Regions from separate parts of the Homo sapiens genome. Here regions 2, 3, 4 and 5 are each linked to region 1. The links are contacts of gene promoters, found by promoter capture Hi-C in blood cells and fetal thymus (Javierre and others, 2016). All regions are on one chromosome and are shown on one strand. Each heading gives the region's core, a stretch centred on a gene start or on the middle of the fragment in contact. The rest is flanking DNA. Distances are from core to core; before and after follow the strand shown.

Region 1 (2,881 bases), core at 173-2,672:
CTCCAAAACATCTAAAACTTTTACCTCTAAAAACATTCAAGGTCAAGTGAATTATTTAGTGAACTGTCTTAAATGCCATTGTCATTAAGGTATATTTGTGCGTGTGTCCAGCACATTCATTGGGACTGACTGTGTGACAGACATTGTGCCAGGTTCTGGACTGACCCAGGAAGCTCACAACTTTGAGTGATACATGTCAATAATAAATACATGTATCTTCTGTTACTTAGCAGAAAAGAGGAAGCCCTAACAGCTTGCAGAAGTCATAGCAGTGAGGGAAGGAATGCTCTACAGAAGATGACAGATAAGATGAGTGATGTTATTAATAACTTGTGTATCGGCACAGAGACATTATGGTTTTTGTCATGTTTGGGGCACTACAAGTCACTGGACTACACACTGGATGCAGTTGAGAGAATAGTTCAGATGAGGTTGAAAACAAAAGCAAGGATTTTTTTAATAGTCAAAAGCTTCAAAATTATTTTAAGCAAGAATATGTATGTGAAACAAGTTTTTCTTGAGAAATTGCAGTATTTTCTTTAGAAATATATACTTGAATATATTTAAGTACTATAAACTGTGTTTCCAAAGTCAGCTATTGTGGAATTGGCTGGGTGCAGTGGCTCACGCGCCTGTAATCCCAGAACTTTGGGAGGCCAAGGCGGGTGGATCACCAGAGGTCAGGAGTTGGAGACCAGCCTGGCCAACATGGTGAAACCCCATGTCTACTAAAAATACAAAACTTAGCCTGGCGTCGTGGCAGGCGCCTGTAATCCCAGCTACTCCCGAGGCCTAGGTAGGAGAATGGCTTGAACAGGGGAAGTGGAGGTTGCAGCGAGCCAAGATGGTGCCACTGCACTCCAGCCTGGGCGACAGGGCGACTCTGTCTCAAAAAAAAAAGTCATCCATTGTGAATGAATGTACAAAACGCTTATTAATAAGTGTAATATTAAAATATATCTTTTCTGAAAGTTTTAGTGACAAAACAAATTAGTTACAGATTTAATGTTACCAAAATTCATGTACATTGAAAATTTCGGGACATTTTATACTGGTGGTGGTGGGGTGGCATCTTAGCTTGGGTTTAAATATCATTAGTAATCGGATAGCTCTGTAGATGATTATCAGTATATAAAGACATCGTGAGCAGTATTTAATAAGAAGAGTTGCTGAAGTGACTTTTGCAGGAGGATGAATGCTTTTTTTAAAAAAAAAGTTTATACGTGCCTCTTCGCTCTTCCAAAAAAAAAAGAGAGAAGAAAAAGAAGAATAAAACGAGAGACGAAGGTGGATAACACCTTTCTCTAGACCCCGGTGCCTCTCATTTCTCGGGCTGCAGGCGACGGCTGCTGGGCCTGCGCGGGGTGGAGCCGACGCTGACGCGCCCTGCGCCGCAAAGCATTGTGGGAGCTCGGGCCCGCTAGTGTCGTGGTTGGAGGCGAGGTGGGGCGGCCGTTTGTTTTCTCGTGGTCTCGAGCTCGCGCGCTCTCATCCCCTCCCCCGCGGCGTGCGGCGGGGCGGAGAAACGGCGGCGGCGGCGGCGGCATCGGCAGCAGTAGCAGAGGCTGTAGCATCGGACACCCTCCTCTCTCCCGCAATCCGGTTCCTCTTCCCCCTCCTTCTCACTGTTTGTTGTGTGTTTGATGTGTTAAAGCAGGAGCGAGAACCCGAGCAGCGCCATGAGCAACACTACCGTCGTCCCCAGCACTGCAGGTCCGGGCCCCAGCGGCGGGCCCGGTGGCGGAGGTGGTGGTGGCGGCGGAGGCGGCGGCACCGAGGTAATCCAGGTGACTAATGTCTCCCCGAGCGCTAGCTCTGAGCAGATGCGGACTCTCTTCGGTTTCCTAGGCAAGATCGACGAACTGCGCCTCTTCCCGCCGGAGTGAGTATCGTCCACCATCACTGTTCCTGCTAACGCCGCCTCAGCCTGGGCCTAACACACACAATTTCCTTAGGCCCCTGTCGCTGCTTCCCCGGGCCAGGCTGCTTGAGTGGCTGGTGGCTGGTGGATTTACTTAAGACGGTTGTGTTCCAGGCCTACAAAAAAATGCAGAGAGGCAGGGCCAGGGCTTTTTGGAATTAGGAAACACTGGCTGTTATTCTCGGGAAATTTTTTTTTTCCGCCTTAAATTGTGCCAACGTGGTCGTTTGGCTTTGGGGACTTAACGCAAGACTAACCGCAGTCTGTACGTCGTATATAGGTTAAATCCCTTTTTTAAAAAACTGAGTATTTGTTCTTTGCGTTCTTGGAAGAAAGGTAACAAAATTATTCATGCCTGTGTTAATTTGGTGTTAAACTTTGTAGGTTGTTCACTTATTGTTATTGCTGTTATGTGGTTCTGGCCCAGCAATATAATTCAAAGATCATATTCTTTTTGACAGACGCTTAGTTTAGTGTGAGCCTGATTACTTAATTTGTATAATGTCAAAAAACGGGTTATAAACCAGAGATTTTCCTTTGTTTGAATAATATACAGATTTGTGATATTTCACAGTTGTTCTTGAGAAGGATTTTTATAAATGTTGAAATTTGAATTAGAGTGTATGACTTTTTATCCTTTTTGTCTCACTTTTATTTTGAAAATTATTTCTATCGCAAGAATATTAAGTGGATGAATTGTAAAGAAAAAATAGTTCAAAGAAGCTAAGAAGTAAGATAAAGTGTACTACTAAAACAGACAATTGGAATAATAATAATAGTCTTGTGCTTTTTGGAAGACTTATTGGTGGAGAAGTGACAATTCAAATGTCATTATCAGTAAATATCATATATTGAGAATTTTATGATGTCACTTAAATACTAAACAGGAAATTGGAATCCTCTAAGAATCTACTGTTATGGTACGTGTAACCATTAACTTTCTGCTCAATAAAATAATTG
Region 2 (2,881 bases), core at 225-2,724, 4.8 Mb before region 1:
AAAAAAAATAAAAAAATTAGCTGGTGTGGTGGCATAAGCCTGTAGTCTTAGCCACTCGGGAGGTTGAGGTAGGAGGATCACTTGAGCCTGGGTGATCAAGGCTGCAGTGAGCTGAGATCGCTCCACTGTACTCCAGCCTGGGCAACAGAGTGAGACCCTGTCTCCAAAAAAAGAAAAGAAAAAGTAAATTGTGTCCTGGCTTACAATAGTAAGGACAGGCTAAGAGCTGGACAGAAGAAAACTCCTTTCCTTTAGAGATACAGCAGTATAGTTAGCTAGGATGGTAATGAAAAAGCTTCAGAATGTAGTTGGTAAAATTTGTGAGAATCAATAAAATATTCAGAATGGAATTAAATTTGCCCTCTCTTGATTATTACTACATTGATTATGTCAGTTTATGTTTTCATTGAAGTATATATACATCTAAGGGCTCTACCTTGTCAGAAACTTCAAGTAACTCATGGACAAATGAAATCATCATATAATACATAGAAACATTCAGCAAGAAGTGAGTCATCTTGCTGTCACATAGACTATACCAGTCATATGACATGAAGCTATGATCGAAGTGCCACTTGGGAACACAGGCTTGAATTTGATGCATATGATTTTCATCTCTCCACATTTTTTTGTACTAGTCTGAAAAGAAGAATTAATGAGAAGCAATGGTAGTGCTTGAATTTTGATGAATCAAAAGAGAAGGAGAAACAAGAGCCCAGAAAAATCCACAAACTGTATTCCCCATTATGACTCTCAAAGAACTTTTTAGAAATGGGAAAATGGGAGTTAAAAACAGTCAATAGAGATGGGCTGTCATGAACCTTTGTCATTTGGCAGATACGTCTGGAGAACAGAGATACGTCTTGTGCTGCCTGATAAGCTCTCTGTTGTCTACTTCTTGATGGATTACTACTACCCTTGTGCATTTCTAGGGGGAGGTCATTATGGGGAGGTTATAGTAATTTGGGTCAGATATAGTAGATTAGGCTGAAAAGGAGAAATGGCCAAATAGAAAAACATTTCCATTGCTTAGAGCCCATATATTGGCAGTGAAAAATTTAATATTAATGAAATTTTGGTCTGTGGTATCTAATGTGTGTTTTTGTTTTCTCTACAGGCTACTGGGCAACCCTATGAACAATACGCAAAGATGATTTTCATGGAGCTCAATGATGCCTGGTCTGAATTTGAAAACCAAGGCCAAAAGCCCTTATATTAATTTATGAGCTTTTCCATCTCTGCTGCAGACCTGTGCTAATGCTTAGTGTGTGTCACAATTCTGAGGTTTTCGCAGATGAACCAAAAACTCCAGTAACATGTTTTCAGTACTAAACCGTTAAGTTACTCATGAATTAATTTCTCATTGATAAGGAATGTGGATGTTTGGTTTCTCCAAAGTTCCCACCATAAAAGATCCAAAGCATGAGAGGAACTTCTAGTCAGATGACCTTGCAGAACCACCGCATTCCACCCTGCCCTTTGGGGAGCCTACTCAGCATTCTACCTGGGGAAATGGAAAACAGAGGCCACCACCCATGAAGGCATAACACCCATCACATTGTCTGAGAATAGGATTAATGAGCAAAAGTTATGATAATAGAGTTATATGATGGTTTAATGGTTTCTAGATTTTTCTTGGAAAGATATAATTTGAGCAGTGGCTTTATGCAGACTCCAAGAACAAAACCACCAGGTATTTTTTTTTAAGTAAAAATTTACTAAGGCCTTTAGCATAATACTGTAAATGTCTTTTGGTCAAGAGAACTAACAAATATAAAGGAACTTGAAATGTGGGGAGTGATAATAGTCCAGTGATTAAACTACAGTCCAGTGATTACCACCAACTTTCTGACTAAGCTAAAAATGAATGAAAATGGTGGCTAAAGAAAATAGGGACTCTGAAGATGTCGAAATCTTTATTCCTGGTTAGGAAGGTGGGCCGCTACCCTTCTTTCCCTTTAGAAAACTGTGATTAATTAAATAAAAAGTCTTACTACTATAACAACTCTAAACCTGGTTTAAATGAAACATCTAATTTTGCTGTAAGGCTTAATGCTCTTCTTTTGTTTAGCCAAGAAAACATTCTTAGTTGGAAACAGGTGGTAAAGTAGTTTGGCCTGTTCACAACTTATCAGGACCAATATCTAGTGTGGACTCAGTGTTCTCTAGGTTTGTGAGCAGTTGTGGTAAGAGAATGGAAGGCAACACTGAATAGGAGTTAAGGGAATGGCACGATCACAGTGAGAGAGCTGCACTCACCTGCAGACCCAGTCAGATGGCTTGTCAGTATCTGCTCTGAGGAACCAGGTCCCACCTCCCCACAAGGCAAATCTAGACCCATTAAATTATTACAGTGGGCTTTTTTGTTTTAAAAGTGGTTGGGGATCCACAGGAACGACATTCATACAGGGACATTTGTGAAAGCAAAGCAAGAATGAATGCTTTCCCGATCTCAGACTGGCTGGATTCAGATCAGTGTGTTGGCTGGTTCTCATTTTAAGGGGTAAGCAGTTTGCTATTCTGTGACTTTAGTAGATCTCTTTTGTGTGCACATATACAATGTGCATTATACATATATATTAAATATATCCACAAAGCAGATGGGCAAAAAGATTTTCATGCTAATCTTCAAAGGTTCATGCTCAATATTGTGAAAAGCTTTTAAAAGTTGTTTTGAAAAGACAATCATTTTTTGTTTTTGTTTTAACTTTCTTGTGGCAAGCTATACCGGAAAAGCGGCATGTCAAAAATACTTTAGGTTCTACATAGATCTCTTTCTCTCTTTTGTTTTGTTTGTTTGTTTGTTAAAGTTCATTATTTATTTTACCTTTTACTGACAATGTGAAACTCGAAGAAAATGTTCTCTTTTTAAATATACAGT
Region 3 (2,881 bases), core at 261-2,760, 4.5 Mb after region 1:
TTATTTTTGCTAGTGGAATGTGATGATATCCTTGATCAGACATAAGCAAGCACTTGGCACCTCTGATATTGTGATAGGGAGAGTGATGTGTGACAGGGTAATGATTGACAGCCCCACCAGAAATCAAATGGTGTGAAGGCAGGACGATGTTGCCCGGGGATGCTGGGCAGACAGAAATAATAACTGTCTTGTATAAATTCTAGCTCAGACACAATATTACATGTTTCACTAGGTGGTCAGACTACGCCGCAGGATACACTGTAACATGGGTGCAGCCAAGGTTAAAAGGCAGGCAAGTGCTACCTAGGGAAGAGACTAGTACCTGACTCAAGGTCACTAACAAAAAACACGCATACTAGGCTCAAGTGTTGTAACATTTGCTTATAGCAGGAGGGAAGAGACTACACAAGATCTAGCCCTTTGCAATGTGTCAGTCCCCATGGCTAGCAGATTGGTTCCACAGCTGATCAGGGCAGAGTGATGGCATGTACCCCACTTTGTGCTGCAGTAGCTCCCAGACCCTGAACACTGCCCCATAGGGTCTGAAATACAGAAAGCTAGGAACGTGCTCAGGGGCCATTGGTTCTCATGTAGCTGAGCAGTTCCAAGGTTCCTCTCCCAAAGTTAGGAGATAGCAAAAACAAACAAGTGAACAGGGAAAAAAAAACAAACAAAAAAACTGCAAGTTGCAATTGTTACAACAACTGTGCCTGTTACAGAGGGAACAGGAACTCACTGGCTGTGCTCTGAGCTCTTTGCATGCACTGCTATTTGTGAGCTTACTAGTGCTGCTGGTAAGCACTGGTGCTTGGTACAGGATGCTTCTTGGGAACATGGGTGGCAGTTAGGCTTTGTTTGGACCCTTCTCTCACATTACATTTGTCTCTATCTCAATCTAACAAAAAATTTAAACAATCCTAATACAGTTTTTGTATACTACATTTCCTAATGAAAAATCCGTTATGGAATTAAATAAAGTAGTAGTTTACTTCTTCAAAGCACACTAATAGGTGGAAAGAATGGTATAGAAGATTTACGGGAGAACTAGAAATTTTAAGAAAATAAGCAAATAAATTTTTGGTGAAAAAGGACCAAGAAAGCAGAGGGAAAAGTTACTGCAGAAAAAATATGCTGAGTGATTCTGAAAATTTCTAAGAGAAATTGAAGTTATGTATGGGGTAAAGGGTCGCCAAAGGACAGGCCATATACTTGCATCTGATACCACTGTTCATTTATTTAGATTGTAGCTCTGAAGAAAGCAAATGGTGATGCCACTTTGAAATTTGAACCATTTGTTCTTCATGTGCAGTGTCGACAATTGCAGGATGCACAGATTCTGGTAAAATTTTGTTGTAATTGTACTTGAATTTATAGATATGTGGGTAGATGTAATTTTAAGCTTTTAACCTGCTATAAATATCAATGAGATATTACCTTATTCAACTAGTTATGTATATATTATTTATTGGTCTGCTCAATCTATTAATTTTTAATATTAGAAAAAAAGAGTAGCTAATCATTGCTAGGAAAATATAAGTCCCAGGTTATGCTTCCTGTTTTCTTTCTTAACGTTTTTATTTATAAATTTTACTTCAGCATTCTATAGTTTGTTTTTGTTTGCCAAGCTTTAAGAAAAAATACTGTGGAACTACATGTAAAATTAAGAGTTTTAAAGAATATTTCATTTTTCCCATTTAAATGAGCATGCATGAGGTAAACATCTGTTTAGTCTTGATTCTCCTTTTTATACCTTTTATATATTTATATATAAAACTGAATTGCATTTTAAGCAACAATAATGTATTGAGTCTCAGTGTGTCAAGTACTAGGGGCACAGTGATGAACAAGATTAAAGACTGTCTTGGTTCCTCTTCCAAAGTTAGGAGACAGCAAAAACAAACAAGTGAACTGGCAAAAAAACAAAAAACAAACTGCAAGTTGCAAAATGTTCTACCGAAGGAAAAAACAACCTGGTAATAGAGAACAGTGCAAAAAGCAGCTCACTTGAAGATAGGCTTCTCTGAAAAGCTTTCTTTAAGCTAAGACTTAAAGGAACAGAAAGAGCTAGGCATGTAGCTGGGAAATGAACATTCCATGAAGATGGAAAAGTATATACAAAGTTTCAGTGGGTCTAGAGAGTGGAAAGAAGGTGCCAGAAGGAGGCTGGGGCCAGGTCATTTAAGGCTTTGTAGACCAGATTAAAGAGTTTGAATTTCTTTCTGAGTTCAGGGAAAAGTTATTGAAGGGACAGTTTTAAGCAAAGAGTGGCTTTCTAGGTTTTTGTTCTGAAAAACTCAGTTCTGCTTCAGCATAGAGAAAGGAGTGCAGTAAGTGAAAAGATACGAGTTAGGAGTAGTTTGTGGTGATAGGTTGGTGTAAGGTGATAGCACCAAAGCAGGTGAGAAAGGAATAGATTCAATATGTATTTCAGCATTTGAATCAACAGAATTGTAAGGTTGTCTGGGGAAGGACAGCCAGAGGGAGGAGGAGAAAGAGGAATCAAGGATAACTACTTAGGTCTGGCTGGAGCCCCTAGCTGTATGGTAGTCGCCTTTATCCAGATGGGGTGTGCTGAAGTTGAAGTGTGTCCAGAATTGGTTCCTTCCAGTGGGTTATTGGTCTCGCTGACTTCAAGAATGAAGCCGTGGACCCTCGCAGTGAGTGTGACAGTTCTTAAAGATGGTATGTCCGGAGTTTGTTCCTTCAGATGTTCAGATGTGTCCGGAGTTTCTTCCTTCCAGTGGGTTCGTGGTCTTGCTGACTTCAGGAGTGAAGCTGCAGACCTTCGCAGTGAGTGTTACAGCTCTTAAAGGTGGCATGTCCAGAGTTGTTTGTTCCTCCCAGTGGGTTCGTGGTCTTGCTGATTTCAGAAATGAAGCCG
Region 4 (2,881 bases), core at 185-2,684, 4.5 Mb after region 1:
CACTAAAATAGGGCACTCCTCACCAACATATCTGGATAATAGCTGTGTTCATAAATTCCACACCATTTTAAACACACAACATAATCCCAAAGGAATTCGAATTAAATGAGGACAGAAAGTACAAACAGAAGCAAGGCAAAACCCAGTACTGTTTCCCTCTGATAGGACAGGGAGGATCAGAAGCACTTCACACACCAGGTCACCAGCCTATCCCTGCCAGCTGAGGATTTAACAAACTCAGCCAGCTCAGAGAACAGTGTGGATTTTACCTTAAAAAAAAATCATGGTGAAGCAACTGGGCTTTTTACAAGAGGGTAAAGGGAATATAAAGAGATTTTCTTTAAACTCTTCTCTCCCCTTCCTACTGAAATCTTTCCCTTCTGCACAGAGCACTAAGTTAGCTCTCTGAAAGCCAGGGTAATTTAAATAAATGTATGTGTTTGACAGACCCTTTAGTTACTTAGGGTTAAATTTAATTTAACCCAAAAATAGCCTCTTCAGTGAAGTTAAACAGTGGGAGTTTTGGACAAGGTATATCTGTCATATTGTCTCAAGCCCCATAAAGACAATCCTAGTGTTTTTTCATAAATTGTTTGATCTGTGAAATCCTTTAGAATTGATCTATTTGAAGTGTAGGAAGCTAGGTGTGAAACCTCGTGATTCATCTACCTAAAGAAACAGAGAGACAAAAAGGACTGAAATTACCTGGGCACTTTTAAAGGTAAATTCACATTTTCAGGATACCACTCATTATTCAGGGGACTATGTGCCATTTAATAGGTTACTTCTTTCAATCCACTCTCCAGAATACACAGTGCTCTGAAATGGTTAACAGCCTCCTCAAAGTAAGCATCTAGCCCCAGGCCTTTTATTTTTAAAATGCAAAATCTTATCTCCAAAATTTCCAAAGCATCCAGTGACAGAGTTCATGTGGATTTCTTGTTAAATTCTAACTGCAGAGCTCTAACTTTTCCCTCTAAGCTCCTGAGAGGCAGATTGGCAGCTAGTTTCTCGAAGAGGTTTCTGACAGCCCTGCATTGGGTGATTTCATTGAAGGGCTTATTTTAAGTTCTGAGTCCTCCTCCCCCATTCCCCCACATTAGCATTTTCAGCCATGGGTTGTGGTGTTAAGGACAGGGCTGTATACGTGCACTCCATGGATGTCATCAAAGTGCAGCAGGCAAGCAGCAGAAGGGAGATAGAAGGACTAAGAATTCACAGTGTGGCTTTACCGTGCTGTCTGGGGCAACATAGGTAAGCTTTAATGAGCCTTAGTTTCCTTATCTAAGGGAATATGGAATTAATATCAACCTTAAAGAACTGTTTAAAATTCTAAATAAATATTTTTATAACATATGCTACTTGAAGGCAAAAACAAGGCCAGTTTATCTTAGTCTACACCCAATACAGGTGGAAAATCTAACATATTTTTGAAGGGGTGCTCTGTTGAGTTTATTAACCAAGAAATGCTAAACTAATGACAAAACATCACCTTCAGAAGACCAAAATCAAAAGTTTTACTACATAAAGAAAAAAAGCACCTTTGACTCTATTTATAAATCTGACTTTTAAAAATGACCAAAGGAACTATAATGTGAAACCCATAAACCCAAGCTTGTTTCAAAATACATTAAAAAAAATACTTACTCCTCCACTTGCCCCATGAACCAGAACACTCTCTCCAGCTTTCACACAGGCACTGCAAAGGAAAGCATAAGTTACATCACCTTATTTTTTGAAGCTAATTAATCTCGGGTGTTTTCATCATCTTAAGGAATTTCTACCCCTAGTCTGGCTAACACTTACACAAACAGCAAATGCAACCTGACATACAGCCCCAAATATTCCCTAAGCTCCACAGAATAAACAAAGCCTTCAATTCATTTATTCCTTGAACAAATATTTATTGGGAGTCTTTATGTTCCAGGCACTATGCTGCTGGACACTGGGATGACTATGTGGTGCTACTTCTGAGTGGCTACAGTCCTTGTGGGTTGTGAAGTAAAATTGCTGAGCCTGGAGGATCTGGAATCTCTCATTCCCATATATCCCCCACAGAAAGGGCCTCAAAGCAGGTTTATTATATAGCTCAGTCTTTATTCTGTGGTCTAGAGTAATGTCCAAGTAAACACAGTAGCTATTTTTTTTGCCCAAGGAAAGAAAGAAATTTTTCTTCTCCATGTCTCTGAACATCAGGTTGCACCAGCCTTGTACTCTTTCAGGGAGGAATGCTGAGTTAGCAAAGGTCAGAGAGTAGGAAATGCAATAAATTCTATCACAAAGATTCCCATGTCATCCCCCTGAAATGTCCAGATTCTCTGGTGAAATGGCATTTTCTTTTTACTTCCAGTTCACATGACTACTTTTCTAGTATGTACTGAAAAGAAGGGACATGCAGCAAGGCATGAGGGGATGCCTCACTATTCCAGATGGACGGTGCCAATGTCAAAAGCCAGCAGATGCTGTGAGATCCAGATCTGACTCTCAGGAAGGCTCTCTTACTTCCTCAAACAATGTGGGGTGGCCACACTGCAGAGACATTATAGAACATTATGCTCCACCTGGGAAAGAGAACAGTAACCAGAGTCCTGCTCCCAGCTATGCACCAACAGCTGAGAAGTGGCAACAATGAGCAATAAGTGAAGCTTTCTCCCACACTCTTGCTTAGAGCTGAAGGGACTGAGGACAATATGTTAAAGTAAAACATAAACATAAGGGGATAGGATGACTAGTGTTAAACTATGGGATATGAAATACCTCCCAAAGAAATTTTTCAAAAATTCTTATAAGATGCCCCTCAAACACTAAAGACACATTCTCATAAATCCCTGGGGCCTGGGGTGAGGGGAGAAAAAGCAGGCAAATCCCCTCCTGAATCCTT
Region 5 (2,881 bases), core at 213-2,712, 3.3 Mb before region 1:
CAAAGAAGTTTGTTCATTGGTTCGTTTAAGGTACTGGTTGAAGTAAGATTGTGCTCCTAAATGCTTTTGTTAAAAGCATAATAATAACTGAGGGGTTTGTGTGTGCGTGCGCCTTATAGCCTCTATAGAATTGTTCAATAACTTTTGAATGGAAGATTCAGTAAATTGCTTACAAATGATTTATCAATATAATAGCAGTTTTGAGTAGCTTAATGTCATAAAAATTAATGTTACTTTGCCTGAAAATAAGGAGGCTTTTAGGTGGGGAATAGGAGCTGAAGAGGCATTTATTCAGGCTTTGTATAGTGGTTTTTTGTTTTGGGACATTAATCACAAACCTCACATAAAATTGGAATTCAGCACACTTTTTTAGTTTAAAAATTTTATACACAATTCCAACAGAACTACTGTTTTGGATATCACATTAATAAATAACAAAGTGTAATAATTTTAAGCAGACACAATTAATGGTGCATTTTCTTATGCCTTTAGCTCTCTCATGTCCTATTTTCAACTCTTCTAGTATGAATAGGCTTTAAAAATAAATTTTTTTTTGTTAACCCAAGTATAAATATTAACTGTTTGCATTTGGATACAAAGAAGATATCTGTTGAATTAATCCAAAGTGCTGAAGAACTAAGGGTAATGGATGGAAACAACAAGGAGGTAGATTCTGGCATAATAAAAGAAAGAATGTTTTAAACATTTGAACTTTTTTTGAAAAGAGCAGCCTTTTTATGAGATATAGTGAGTCACTGGAGGGGTTTAAACATAGGCAGAAAGCCTGGTAGTAGAAGCATGATGAGAGATTACTATCTTGACAGGGTAGAGAATTGACTAAAAGATCTCTAAGGTCCCATCCAACACTAAAATTCTATAACTAGTGAATAGTTAATTTTTATATATTTAATACTGAAGAGGGTAAGTAAGCGTTTTGAGAAAGACTTTTCATTCCGTAAGGTGGCTCCTGAAAATTTTACAGTTAGGTGTATCACTAAAATAAAATAATAGTGGAAGGATACTGAATTCAGTGGTAATGTGTTACCTATGAATTGCAGTATTAGAGCTGTTTCTTTTTTATAATATCTGAACCTAAAAAACCCACTGAATCCACATTTATAAAAAGGGGAAGGGGAAAAATGTAGAGAGTTTTTTTCCCTCAATAATAATAATACCATTTAAAACTAGTAATATTGATACACAATATTAATAAACTTAAAGAGTTATTTAACAGTAAGATAGATACCCATTCAGAAATGTTTCAGACTTCCATTTTCCTGACAAGTTTAGGATTCATTCAGTAGGTTAATAGACTATGATCCCCTGCTCTTTATCATAGTTGGGATTTCTGTTGGTAGTTTAACTGAAGAATCAAAGATTCAGTGTACTTAAGCAAGTTATTTCTGTACCTTGTATTGTAACACTTTTAATTTTCCTTTGGTAGCCAAATTTCATAAATTAGCTTTCATATGTTAATGGAAAACCCTCCTTCATCTCCATGGTATAAAGCCTGAGTTTGTACCTCTAGGCCCCTAATTGTGTCTGTACCCACCTCAGGTCCATGTATATCCATTGTTCTTTGCCTTCAGCTCTTTTCATTAAGTGTATTGATTGAAAACTATTTGGATATGAACTGACACTTTTAAAAAGTCATTTTTATTTCAAGTCCAGAGGATTGACATAATTCAACAGGGTAACTATTAGAAACTATATACCTCTGCTAAAATATTTATTCCCCCAAGGAATCCTGAAAAACACTTTTATATAAGTTTTCTAAAAAATAAAATGAAAATACTGTACAGTACAGTTAATGGTAAAAATTGTTTGTAGATTTGGGAACCTTAAAGTTTTCCTTTCTCTTCTTTCCCTTGCTTTTCTTTCAGTAGAAAATGTGCATCAGATGTTTATGTTTAATTGGTTTACAGACTGTCTGTGGACTCTTTTCCTGTCAAATTACCAGGTAATGTCCTTTCACTTAGCAGCTACTTCATATATCTGTAAATGCAGTTTATTCATGCACAGATTATTATTGGACATAACAGTTTCAAATTAACATTGAATCTTTGGAAATAGGAAAATGCTTGATAGAGTCTAGAATTTTAAGGGAATATAAATAATTTAATAGCCTCCCCTATATTGCATTATAAGTTAAGTATTAACTTTAAGAAAAATTGTATATGTACACATTTATGCAATGTAGTATTGGTTCACATTATTTGGAAGGAATGAATAATTCTCGTATTTAAATGGTTGATTTTGGTAGCCACTTTTGAAACTGCATTAAGAGGAACCCTTGAAGATTAGGAAAAAAATCCCAGTCTTTTGAAATAAAGACTTTCAAACTGGTTTAGTAAAATATGTTAGTGACTGTTTTAATGTCACCTTTGTGTTATTCAGTATGTGCCTTAGTATAATGGAAGTGAAACATGTTAGTTACTTTGAAATCATTGGTTCTGGCCATCATCAGCATTGGCATCACGGCCAATTGGCAGCTGTAGGCCAATACATTAAAATAAACTTTCAAGTTACAGGCATTTCAGGCATTGCAAATAAGTAGGTTCTCCCTCCATGCTACTAAATAGATGATATCCATAAAACAGTCAATTTTCAGTATTTTAAATTTTGTCTAGTTGTGCAAAATTCAGTACATAACTGTGTTGCTACCGGCATGACAGAAGTGTGTGAGAAAACGCAAATGACATGAGGATGGCGGACTGCCTATCATAACCCCTTCCATTAATTTTTGCTCTGACCTCTCTAGAGATTTGGGGATATAGAATTTTACATTTCCTGTCGGGAATCTACTGATGGAGAAATATTTGTCAAGGCATAACCGCTTTCAAAGCACAGTTCTTGCCGCCGTTGCATCACAGCAACATCC

Evidence for each region. Contacts are between HindIII fragments. The CHiCAGO score rates a contact against its expected background, and 5 or more counts as called.
Region 2: a fragment that was not itself captured here is called in contact with the fragment with the promoter of SRSF11 in region 1 in 1 of 17 cell types (non-activated CD4 T cells); the score reaches 5.3 in non-activated CD4 T cells.
Region 3: a contact is called between a fragment that was not itself captured here and the fragment with the promoter of SRSF11 in region 1, in 2 of 17 cell types (total B cells and total CD8 T cells). The highest score is 5.3, in total B cells.
Region 4: a fragment that was not itself captured here is called in contact with the fragment with the promoter of SRSF11 in region 1 in 1 of 17 cell types (non-activated CD4 T cells); the score reaches 5.8 in non-activated CD4 T cells.
Region 5: a contact is called between a fragment that was not itself captured here and the fragment with the promoter of SRSF11 in region 1, in 4 of 17 cell types (total B cells, total CD4 T cells, monocytes and 1 more). The highest score is 13.0, in total B cells.

What each region holds. Positions count from the first base shown.
Region 1 is chr1:70,219,958-70,222,838 of GRCh38, forward strand. It overlaps SRSF11 (serine and arginine rich splicing factor 11), which reads left to right and starts at 1,423. Exons shown (of 12, transcript NM_001350605.2): 1 at 1,423-1,882. The coding sequence starts at 1,680. RefSeq lists an enhancer at 1,317-1,862 and a silencer at 1,758-1,807. The HindIII fragment of the contact is 2,724 bases long and covers 469-2,881 here.
Region 2 is chr1:65,411,807-65,414,687 of GRCh38, forward strand. DNAJC6 (DnaJ heat shock protein family (Hsp40) member C6) reads left to right here. Exons shown (of 19, transcript NM_001256864.2): 19 at 1,118-2,881. The coding sequence ends at 1,219. Among named protein-coding and RNA genes, the nearest start is that of LEPR, 7.4 kb to the right of the region's middle. RefSeq lists an enhancer at 740-1,034. The HindIII fragment of the contact is 2,363 bases long and covers 294-2,656 here.
Region 3 is chr1:74,737,450-74,740,330 of GRCh38, forward strand. It overlaps TYW3 (tRNA-yW synthesizing protein 3 homolog), which reads left to right. Exons shown (of 6, transcript NM_138467.3): 3 at 1,241-1,339. Among named protein-coding and RNA genes, the nearest start is that of TYW3, 5.7 kb to the left of the region's middle. The HindIII fragment of the contact is 226 bases long and covers 1,398-1,623 here.
Region 4 is chr1:74,712,932-74,715,812 of GRCh38, forward strand. CRYZ (crystallin zeta) reads right to left here. Exons shown (of 9, transcript NM_001889.4): 5 at 1,648-1,699. Among named protein-coding and RNA genes, the nearest start is that of CRYZ, 19 kb to the right of the region's middle. The HindIII fragment of the contact is 355 bases long and covers 1,258-1,612 here.
Region 5 is chr1:66,927,004-66,929,884 of GRCh38, forward strand. The region is part of intron 2 of MIER1 (MIER1 transcriptional regulator); the gene reads left to right. Among named protein-coding and RNA genes, the nearest start is that of MIER1, 3.5 kb to the left of the region's middle. The HindIII fragment of the contact is 5,334 bases long and covers 1-2,881 here.